Linked DNA regions of Homo sapiens: all the other regions are linked to region 1. Evidence: promoter capture Hi-C in 16 types of primary human blood cells and fetal thymus (Javierre and others, 2016). All regions are on one chromosome and are shown on one strand. The core of a region is centred on a gene start or on the middle of the fragment in contact, and the rest is flanking DNA. Distances in the headings are between cores, read along the strand shown.

Evidence for each region. The method cuts DNA at HindIII sites, captures the fragments that hold promoters and counts their contacts. A CHiCAGO score of 5 or more calls a contact.
Region 2: a fragment that was not itself captured here is called in contact with the fragment with the promoter of HEPACAM in region 1 in 1 of 17 cell types (monocytes); the score reaches 5.3 in monocytes.
Region 3: a contact is called between a fragment that was not itself captured here and the fragment with the promoter of HEPACAM in region 1, in 1 of 17 cell types (naive CD4 T cells). The highest score is 5.3, in naive CD4 T cells.

What each region holds. Positions count from the first base shown.
Region 1 is chr11:124,934,390-124,937,451 of GRCh38, reverse strand. HEPACAM (hepatic and glial cell adhesion molecule) reads left to right here and starts at 1,405. Exons shown (of 7, transcript NM_152722.5): 1 at 1,405-1,530. The coding sequence starts at 1,446. The region is part of intron 1 of LOC107984406 (a long non-coding RNA gene); the gene reads right to left. The HindIII fragment of the contact is 6,598 bases long and covers 1-1,969 here.
Region 2 is chr11:125,148,365-125,151,426 of GRCh38, reverse strand. No RefSeq gene overlaps it. Among named protein-coding and RNA genes, the nearest start is that of PKNOX2-DT, 15 kb to the left of the region's middle. The HindIII fragment of the contact is 1,746 bases long and covers 705-2,450 here.
Region 3 is chr11:125,098,897-125,101,958 of GRCh38, reverse strand. TMEM218 (transmembrane protein 218) reads left to right here. Exons shown (of 5, transcript NM_001258244.2): 4 at 656-758. Among named protein-coding and RNA genes, the nearest start is that of TMEM218, 11 kb to the left of the region's middle. The HindIII fragment of the contact is 4,850 bases long and covers 1-3,062 here.

The DNA of each region.
Region 1 (3,062 bases), core at 156-2,655:
ACATTACCTCTTCCAGTGGAAGAAAGGTGCCTTGAGTTGTCTAGGGAAAAGTCATAAACACAGAAATGCAAAAGGAAAAAAGAATCCCCTTTATATATTTCAGAATGTTTTCAGAGAGGTCTGTGAAGTTCAGTGCTTCCCAACTCTTCTCCCTCTGCCGAGGCTCAGAAGGGCTATGTAATAATGCTTCAGTTCTAGAAAGTTGACCTACTCAGGCTTTCTCCAGTATGTAAAAAGAATATTTAGAGAGATAATTGCTGCACTTACAAAACCAAGACCAGGGGTTAGGGATGACCAAGAAGGAAGTTGTGAAGTTTGGTCTCCCAAAAATATAAAGATCCCAGCATGAATGAAAAAAGAAACAAGGCAATTTTTAAAAAGTTTAAAACATCATCTCTGTAACAAAGGATTTGCTAGGTACTCTTCTGTACCAAATCTCCATCAACGCTCCCAACAATTCCCCTCAAGGAAGCTCTTCTTTTCCCCATTTTACAGATGAGAAATTGAAGGCTCAAAGAGGTTGCGAGCCCATCCCAAGATCACAGTTACTAGGCATCCATTCCCTTGGCCGCCCTCATGAAAAGGTGTGAACACATGAATGGGGGTCAGAGTAGAGCTAGAGTGTTTCTCCTCTTCACAGCCTCAAAACAGGAGGGCACAGCTAGGCTGTTAAGCTGGTAACAGAACCCTAGGATGCTGGCTGTTAGGAGATGACCTTCATTTTGCTCAGACATGTTCTAGAAAATTGCCTGAAAGCAGGGGAATGAACAGAGTGGCTTCTGGAAAGAGGTGTCCAGCATCTATGTGATTCTATGATAGAAGAGAAAATTCCAAGCCACGGAAAGACAAGTGTAACAATAATAGAATTCAAGCTGTTTTCCAGTCTTCTTCCTTTGGGATGGAACAGGGGTTTTCCATTTCTTCAGCAGTTGTCTGGAGTCTTTCACTTCCCAGCTTTTTAAAATCTCTTCTCCCTCCCTTTTCAGAGCTTATTGGAGGTCTGTCCTGGCATGTACCCTCCTCCTCAGGGAGAAGGAGTGTTAGGTGGAGACAGGGTAGGTTGGGACACAAAGTCCAGTTAAGTGTGTGTCCCAGCTCAGTGCTCTGAGCCCAGATCCTCATCTCCCTGGGTAGTGAGGCTCAGCACAGACAAGCAACCAACTGCTGGGCTGCCGGTGCCCCCCATGTTGGAACCTGAGTTGGAGATTATCTCCTAAGCAGATACCTGCTTCCAAACTGGGGATGTAGGGCTTGGAAACTAGAAAATGCCAGGTCTGAGGGAGAGGAAAGAACAAGTCCAGCAATACACAGAGCTCTGTGTATTCAGAGGGAAGTTGGCAGGGTTGTGTTCGGGCAGAGAAACTCCGAGTGGTACAAAGGGGACGTGCCCAGAGTGGAGAAATCATGCTAATTGTCTGCACTAGAGCTGGAGAACGCCACCCAAAATGAAGAGAGAAAGGGGAGCCCTGTCCAGAGCCTCCAGGGCCCTGCGCCTTGCTCCTTTTGTCTACCTTCTTCTGATCCAGACAGGTAGGAGGCCAGAGGGTAAGAAAGGGTCTGAAGAAAGGACCCGGGGCTTTTACAGCAGACGGAGGGGAGAGTGGAGGGCCTGAATGCCTTTGGGGCAGGAGTGGGGGAGAGTTCAGCTGCCGTGGGAAACATGTCAGGGAATTCAGGCATTAGCGTTGAACGTATTTCTTTATTTTGTGTGCCTCCCGCGCGGCCCCTACCCCCTTCCCCCAAAAGGCTGCATGACTTTGGAGCTCCCACGGCATTCAGTACATTAGATGGCGGGCACTGGGCCATTTCGTATGGGATGACTTGTTGGCGTGGGCCAGTCTGGCATTCTTTCCAAGGGATTGTGGTGGGGCTTGATGGGTAGGGGTAGGGGAAATTTTCTTTTTATACCTCCCCAGCCCCCGACTCTGGCTTCTCTGTGTGTAAAAGAGTAAGGCAGATGAAAGAAGCTTTGGAGATAATGAGCCTCCTAATGTGGGATAGTCATACCCACCTATCCATAATTCACTCCACTCCATAGCTGCTTACCTCCTCTACCGCCCCCTACCAATCCTTTGAGAAGTGATCTTATTTAAATATACCTATTTATGAGTACATACACATATACACACACACACACACACACAATTACAGAGCACCTAGGAATTCACAACTTAGTGAGGCAAACAGATGTGGAGATCATTTTACTAAACTGCAGGAACTATCATAAGTCAATTATGCAGAGAATGCATAGCAATCAGAGAAAGGTCACCTACCCCATCCAGGAAGCTGGTGCTGGTGGAGGGGGTGTTGGTAGGGTAGGACACAGGGTGTGGGAATATCAGGGGGAGGTTTTCTGGTAGAAGGAATGTGTGCACTGAATTTTAAAAGATGGGGAAAAAAGGTAGGAGTATAAGTGGGTGTTAGGGTTGGGAAATGAGCAAAGGTCAACAGCTTGAAATAACATCAAGTGTTTAGTCAGAGCCCAGCAGTTCATCACTGCTGGAGAGAAAAGCATGAATTGAGTGAGGCAAGAGCTTTGTAAACCAGACTCGTAATCTGGGGATTGAGAGGTGAGGGAATGAGCGGTTTTTAATTTGGGGACTGTCAGGGTTACATGTACCTTTCAGATAGCTTACTCAGTCTGCAGGGGGTCATTCGAGGGGAAACTGGAGGCAAATAAAATAAGAAAGGAAGTTTGTATTCATTTTCTAGGGCTCCTATAACAAAATACCACAAACTGAGTGGCTTAAACAACAGAAATGCATTATCTCAAAGTCGTGGAAGCCAGAAGTGGGAGATCGAGGTGTCAGCAGGGCCATGCTCTCTCTGAAGCTTCTAGGGAGGGCTCTGCCTTAGGGTTCTCTCCTAGCTTCTGGTAATTCCTTGACTTGTGGCAGCATCACTCCAGTCTTGGTATGGCATTCCCCGTGTTTGCATGTCTATGTCCACATTTCCCCTTTTTATAAGGACACATACTAGATTAGGTCCATCCTACTCCAGTATGATCCCTTCTTATTAGATCTGCAGTGACCCCATTGCCAAATAAGTTCACATTCTGAGGT
Region 2 (3,062 bases), core at 328-2,827, 210 kb before region 1:
AGAAATTTGCAAACATGGAAAAGGGAAACTAAAACAGAAAAAAAAAAAAAAGGAGGAGGAATGGAGCAATAGAGCTCTTGCAAGGAATAAAAGAAAATTTCAAAAGAGCAGTAATGCTTCAAAAACACTCTCAAAAAGAGGAAAAAATGTACTCATAAAACAATAAGAGATTACAATGAAAAGATAAATTTTTAATTTTAAAAGCCTCTTTGAAATTAAAAATATAACTAAAAGTTTTTCAAAAATTGAATATAAAGTTTAGAAGATAAAGTTGAAGAAATCTTTCAAAGAGTGAAGCAAAATGGTAGAGATGGATAATAGGAGAGAAAAAAAGACATTAGTCTCCTAATGAGCCCAGCACAAAGAATAGAAAAGACATATACCAATGCCCACCACCTTCATTATCATGACATTTTAGAACATAAAACATTTTAAAAGTCCTAAAACACAGGTAAAAGAAACGAGCATAAAAACATCAAACTTTTGGCCGGGCGCTGTGGCTTACGCCTGTAATCCCAGCACTTTGGGAGGCCGAGGCAGGCGGATTATGAGGTCAGGAGATCGAGACCATCCTGGCTAACATGGTGAAACTCCGTCTCTACTAAAAAATACAAAAAATTAGCCGGGCGTGGTGGCGGGCGCCTGTAGTCCCAGCTATTCGGGAGGCTGAGGCAAAAGAATGGTGTGAACCCGGAGGCAAAGCTTGCAGTGAGCCGAGATCGCGCCACTGCACTCCAGCCTGGGCAACAGAGCGAGACTCCGTCTCAAAAAAAAAAAAAAATTAAACTTTTAAAAAGAGCAACCTCAGATGTTAAAAGATATCACAGAAATGCCTTTTACATTCTGAAAGAAACTGTTCTTTAATCTAAAATTCGATACCCAAATAAATTATCAGTCACATATCACAGTAGTCTAGAGATATTTTCAGATATTTAATGACTCAAGAAAATGACCTCCTAGGCACCCTATCTTAGGAAGTTATTGGAGGATGGGGTTTAATAAAGTTAGACTATAGGGCAACATAGAATACATGGAATTCAGGAAATAGGGTATTTACCACAGGAAGACAATAAAGGAAAAATTCAAAATTATGGTAAATTGAAGCCTCTGGATGACAGTTAAACAGCATTCCTATAAAGCAGCTAATCCAGGTTGAAACAGAAAAACACAAGATTCTTGGAGGGATTACTATATGGGGAAAAAGTAAAACAGATGAGCCTGAATGCATAGAAAGTAAATTCCAGGAAAAACAATGGATTGTATGAAAAAGGACACAAGGTCACATTGTACTACTTGACTTGGTAGCAAATTATATTTGCATAGTCATTAGCATAGAAACATCAAATAGTGATTGAACTAAAGAGTAAGTTTATGTTGAAGAGATAGGAGGAGGGGAAGAACAAGGATGGAGTTGGGAGACAACACCATGAGAGAATTAAGCTCTCTACATGGCAGTAAATCAATACATAATTCCTAAAATTGGTCAATTAAGTAGTAACAATATAAGCATATTATTTAGAAACACAGCGATATACACAAAAAAGAAATGAGATGTAGGAGTTGATGGTAACTGCCTTGGGGCAGGACTTGGGAGCGTGGAGAGGTGAGGCGAGGCCACTGTTGATTTCCAAACTATCTATATATATTCTTTGATAAATAAAAATTAAACTTTTATAAGAGAGTCCACATGACATGCACACATCCCAGCTCAGCTTTTCAGGCTGTGGGATCAGATGAGGATTTGTGGTCAAAGCTCTGATCGAAATAAACGATGCGTCTTTATCCGCGTTTCTGCAGATACCCCTTGGGGACCTGACACAGTGGTTGGAGACCAGTAGGCTACAAAGATAAAGAATGCTGACCCTGGCCTACAGCTGTGGAGGGTACAGGCAATTCTCAAATATGCTGTGATATTTCATGTCTGTGCATGCTGGTCTCTCTGATTAGAGTGCTTCAATAAATAAAGCTCTAATCACCTAATGTGGTGGACATCTCCTCAACCTTTAAACACCTCCAATCTATCTCCTCTCCTAGAAAGCCTTTCCTGAACCCTCCTTCCCAAAGAGAGAGTTATTCCCTCTTTTCACCTATTTTTGAATCTTCTGTGGATGCATCTAGCAAAGCATCCATCACCCTGTGTTTCGGTTGTAAATAAACCATCTCTCCAACTGATTTGTGATTCTCTCTGTGGCCATCAGCTTATGCTGGTTATGCTGCGGGATAAACAACCATAAAATCACAGCAGCTCACCATGCAAAGGTTTATCTCTCATTATGTTACACATCGGCTGTGGCACTGGCATTCCACGTCTTCTCTTCATTGTGGGACCCAGCTAGAGAGGCCTGGCCCTATTCTGGACATGCCACTCTTCTAGAAGATAAAAAAGAGAAAACGCAGTGGAACCGCAAAATGTCCCTGAAACCTCCTGCTCAGGCTTTGAGGAGAAAGCTTCTGCTCAAATTTCACTGGCCAAAGCAAGCCACATGACCAGGTCTGACATCAGTATAAGCCTTTCACAGGGCAAGGCAGCAAACAATTGGGCACACTAATACCGTCTGTCACAGTCTCCTTGGTAGGTTTCATATCTTATTTTGATATCCTGGCCCTAACACAATGCTTGGCACCAAGTCAAGTACTCAGAGCATCTTCATGGACTTGAACTGATTATCAGATAATAACTTAGCCTGATACAGGAACCTAAGATCAGCAGGCGATTTGAAGAAGGCAAAGGGCCTGCTGCAGAGCTGGGAGGGCATCAACAACAGGCTCACAGCACGGGAAATAGCACCATGCTCGGAATCAAGAGGCCCGGGTTCCAATTCAGCTGTGAAAAGCCATACCCACCACCAAGGGCTCAGCCTTCAAATGAAAGGGATGACCTCAATAATCCCTGGGGCTCCTTCCAGTTCTCACTTCTTAGGAGCCTGTCATGGAACCCCTCAACCTGGGTCCCTTGGTACTCACTTGCCAATCTGCCAGCTGCCGTTAGTCACGGCATCCAGCTCTATGATTAGAAAGAAAATAAGCCCCAAAGTCACTTCATGTGCTAAAATGAATTTCTA
Region 3 (3,062 bases), core at 236-2,735, 160 kb before region 1:
CAGAGATGGGAGGAGAAGGAAGTAGTGTTCTTGAGTTCTAACTGTGGCAAGAAACTCTGCTTTCACTGCTTATTGAGTTTCTTGAGGCTGTATGTGTATGTGTTTATGAATTGTTCAGATTTATGGCAGAGGCTTGGTCCAGTACCCGAGGCTCTAGCCCTGGACCCAGGAAAACGAAAGCAACATTTGATGAGTTGGGCCTGCTTTCTATATCAGGCATTGCCTTCAGAACAGGGTTAGGCCATAAACCGACTCTGAAAACACTAGAGTTGCACTCTGGCAAGACAGTGTTAGTATGAAGCAGAGAGTTGTAGAATTTTCTAAAGTATTCTGTTCTAAAAACAACAGAAGTGGAGGTGGAGAGGGGATGCTTTGGTTTTTCTTGATTATGACTTTGGGCAGAAGTAAAAATAAAAACTACACATTTCCATTCTTAGGAATTGGGAATTACCAAGAATAAATGGGAATGCACCCAGCTGGTACCTGTCTAGGAAGAAGGACTTTGGGATGAAGAGGTTGTTGACAGCAGGCCTCTGGACATTGTTAAGGGACTGAAACATAGAATATTGGCTCCAAGGAAGAGACTGTCCAGACCTAACTGATCAAAGAAGAAATTATAGACAGTGCTTTTAATAATTTGTCTTTTTAACCCCAGGTTCTCTGTCATTTTTTTATTCTTCGGTGCTGTGATCATCACATCAGTTCTGTTGCTTTTCCCGCGAGCTGGTGAATTCCCAGCCCCAGAAGTGGAAGTTAAGGTAAAGCTGTTGCTTTCGTTTTGCCTCCTGAGCTGTGATTCTTATTTCTCTTGGTCTGCACATCCGTCCTGCCCTTGATGTTCCCTGACATCGGGTTGCCTGAGATGTCAGAATTGTAAAGTTCAACCAATGACGGGGAAAGTTCAGAGGGAGTTTTAAGTTCCCCTGCCCCTTCACTCAGGAAAAGAATCTTACTCTGAATTCCATCTACAACCCCACCAGGCAGTTATTTGCCTGATTTGGTCTCATCTTCAGTTTGCATCAAGTTGAAAACAGCCTGTTGGAAAGCCACCTCGTACCATGGGGACAGAAAAAAAAGAAAATGAAATAGGGATAGTCACAGGCCTGCACCCGAGATGAAGTGTTCCCATTCCTGGCAGCCTGGGCTCCTAACTGCAGATCCTGGGCTGAAATTGATGTGGTGCCCTGAGGGTGCTGAGGACATGCTTCTCCAACTGCATGTGCTAGAATTTTCCCAACAGTCTTCTGGGAGTTCTTTGGTCCTCATACCTGGGACCATACCTGCCAGCACCCATGTCTTTAAATGGATTTTTATCATCTCTCTCAGAATCCTTCTCTGGAGTTCTTTACCATGGCTTTACCATGCATGGCTGGTCTCAGACCCATGGGATCTTGACAATGACATTGACCTTTTCTGTCCCATTACTCCTTCTCACAGCTTTCCTCTCAACCTTCATTTTGATGTTTTAAGTGATAGTCATGAAAATAGCTAACATTCTTTAAGGGATTTCCGTGTGCCAGGTCCTGTGCCAAACACTTTGTTTGCACTGTCTCATTTAAACCTCAGGACAGCCCTAAGTAGTATGACATAGGTACCATTATTATCCCCATTTTATAGGTAAGAACACTGAGTCTGTCAGAGGTTAAGGTAACTTGCCCAAGGTCACATAGCAAGAGGCAGAACAGGGATTCAAGCTGAGGTCCGTCTTCAAAATCTTCAGTGTTGAGAACTTAACAGAATATTCAGGGCAGTCCCAGAGAGCTCATGGGTTAGCATTTTGACACTAGACAACAACAGTACACAAGATTATATGTGTAACTTTTGAACTAAAATTGACACTGTAGGATTAACTATGGCAAGAGGAAGGAAATTAAACTCCAAGGGAAATAGTACTTTACCACACACACTTAAGGAATTATTTCCATGGACACAAGTTTGTTGTCAGTATTTGGAAAACACTCTGGAGGTGTGGGTACCACATGTGTGAGCCAGGGGCAAATTCACACCTCACTTATCTTTTTTTTTTTTTTTTTTTTTGAGACAGTCTCGCTCTGTCGGCCAGGCTGGAGTGCAGTGGCATGATCTCGGCACACTGCAACCTCCGTCTCCCGGACTCAAGCAATTCTCCTGCCTCAGCCTCCCGAGTAGCTGAGATTATAGGCATGTGCCACCACACCCAGCTAATTTTTGTATTTTTGGTAGAGATAGGGTTTCACCATGTTGGCCAGGCTGGTCTCAAACTGCTGACCTCAGGTGATCCACTCGCCTCAGCCTCCCAAAGTGCTGGGATTACAGACGTGAGCCACCGCACCCAGCTGCTTTCCTTGTCTTTTAAGGGGGAGAGTGATGTGGGCTGCCACATTTCTGGATGCTGCAGATGTAAACATCGGGAGAAGGGCACAGAGCAAACACATTTTTGAAATCAATCCCTCGATTGTCTGTCATATGAGTTTCAGACCCAGGAGACAAGAATGGGGTTTGAGCAAAATACTTTTGTCAGCATGGCCGGCAGAATTGGAGTTCTCATTTTCAGGTTTTGAGAGCGGGCCTCTGCAGCAGCCTGGCTCAATGCTGTATCAATAATACATGGCCTGGGCCTTCTGCACCCAAGGCCTGCTAATTGGCTAATTAAAAAGTGAAACGTGTCGAACGAGCAAACATGTGGCCCGCAAGAGACTTGTTCAGTACCGGAGCCAAGGTCAAAGTTATGTTAAAGCTGTTTTATCAAACTGACCTTTGTTGTAAGTTGACTGTTGGGGTAATCTCTGGAGCAGCTGAGGTGTCTTTGGACCTCAGTGATCCTACTAGGGCTCGGGTCTGAGAGATACTTTGTGTATGGCCGCTGTGTTAGTTTTCTGTTGCTGCTGTAACAAATTATGTGAACTAATGGCTCCCAACACAGATGTATTATCTTACAGTTCTGTAGGTTAGAGTCCAACATCAGTCTCACTGGGCTAAAACCAAGGGGTTGGCAGGGCAGCATTCCTTTCCAGAAGTTCTAGGGGAGAATCCATTTCCTTATCCTTTCCAGCTTCTAGAGGCTGCTCGTATTCCTTGGCTGA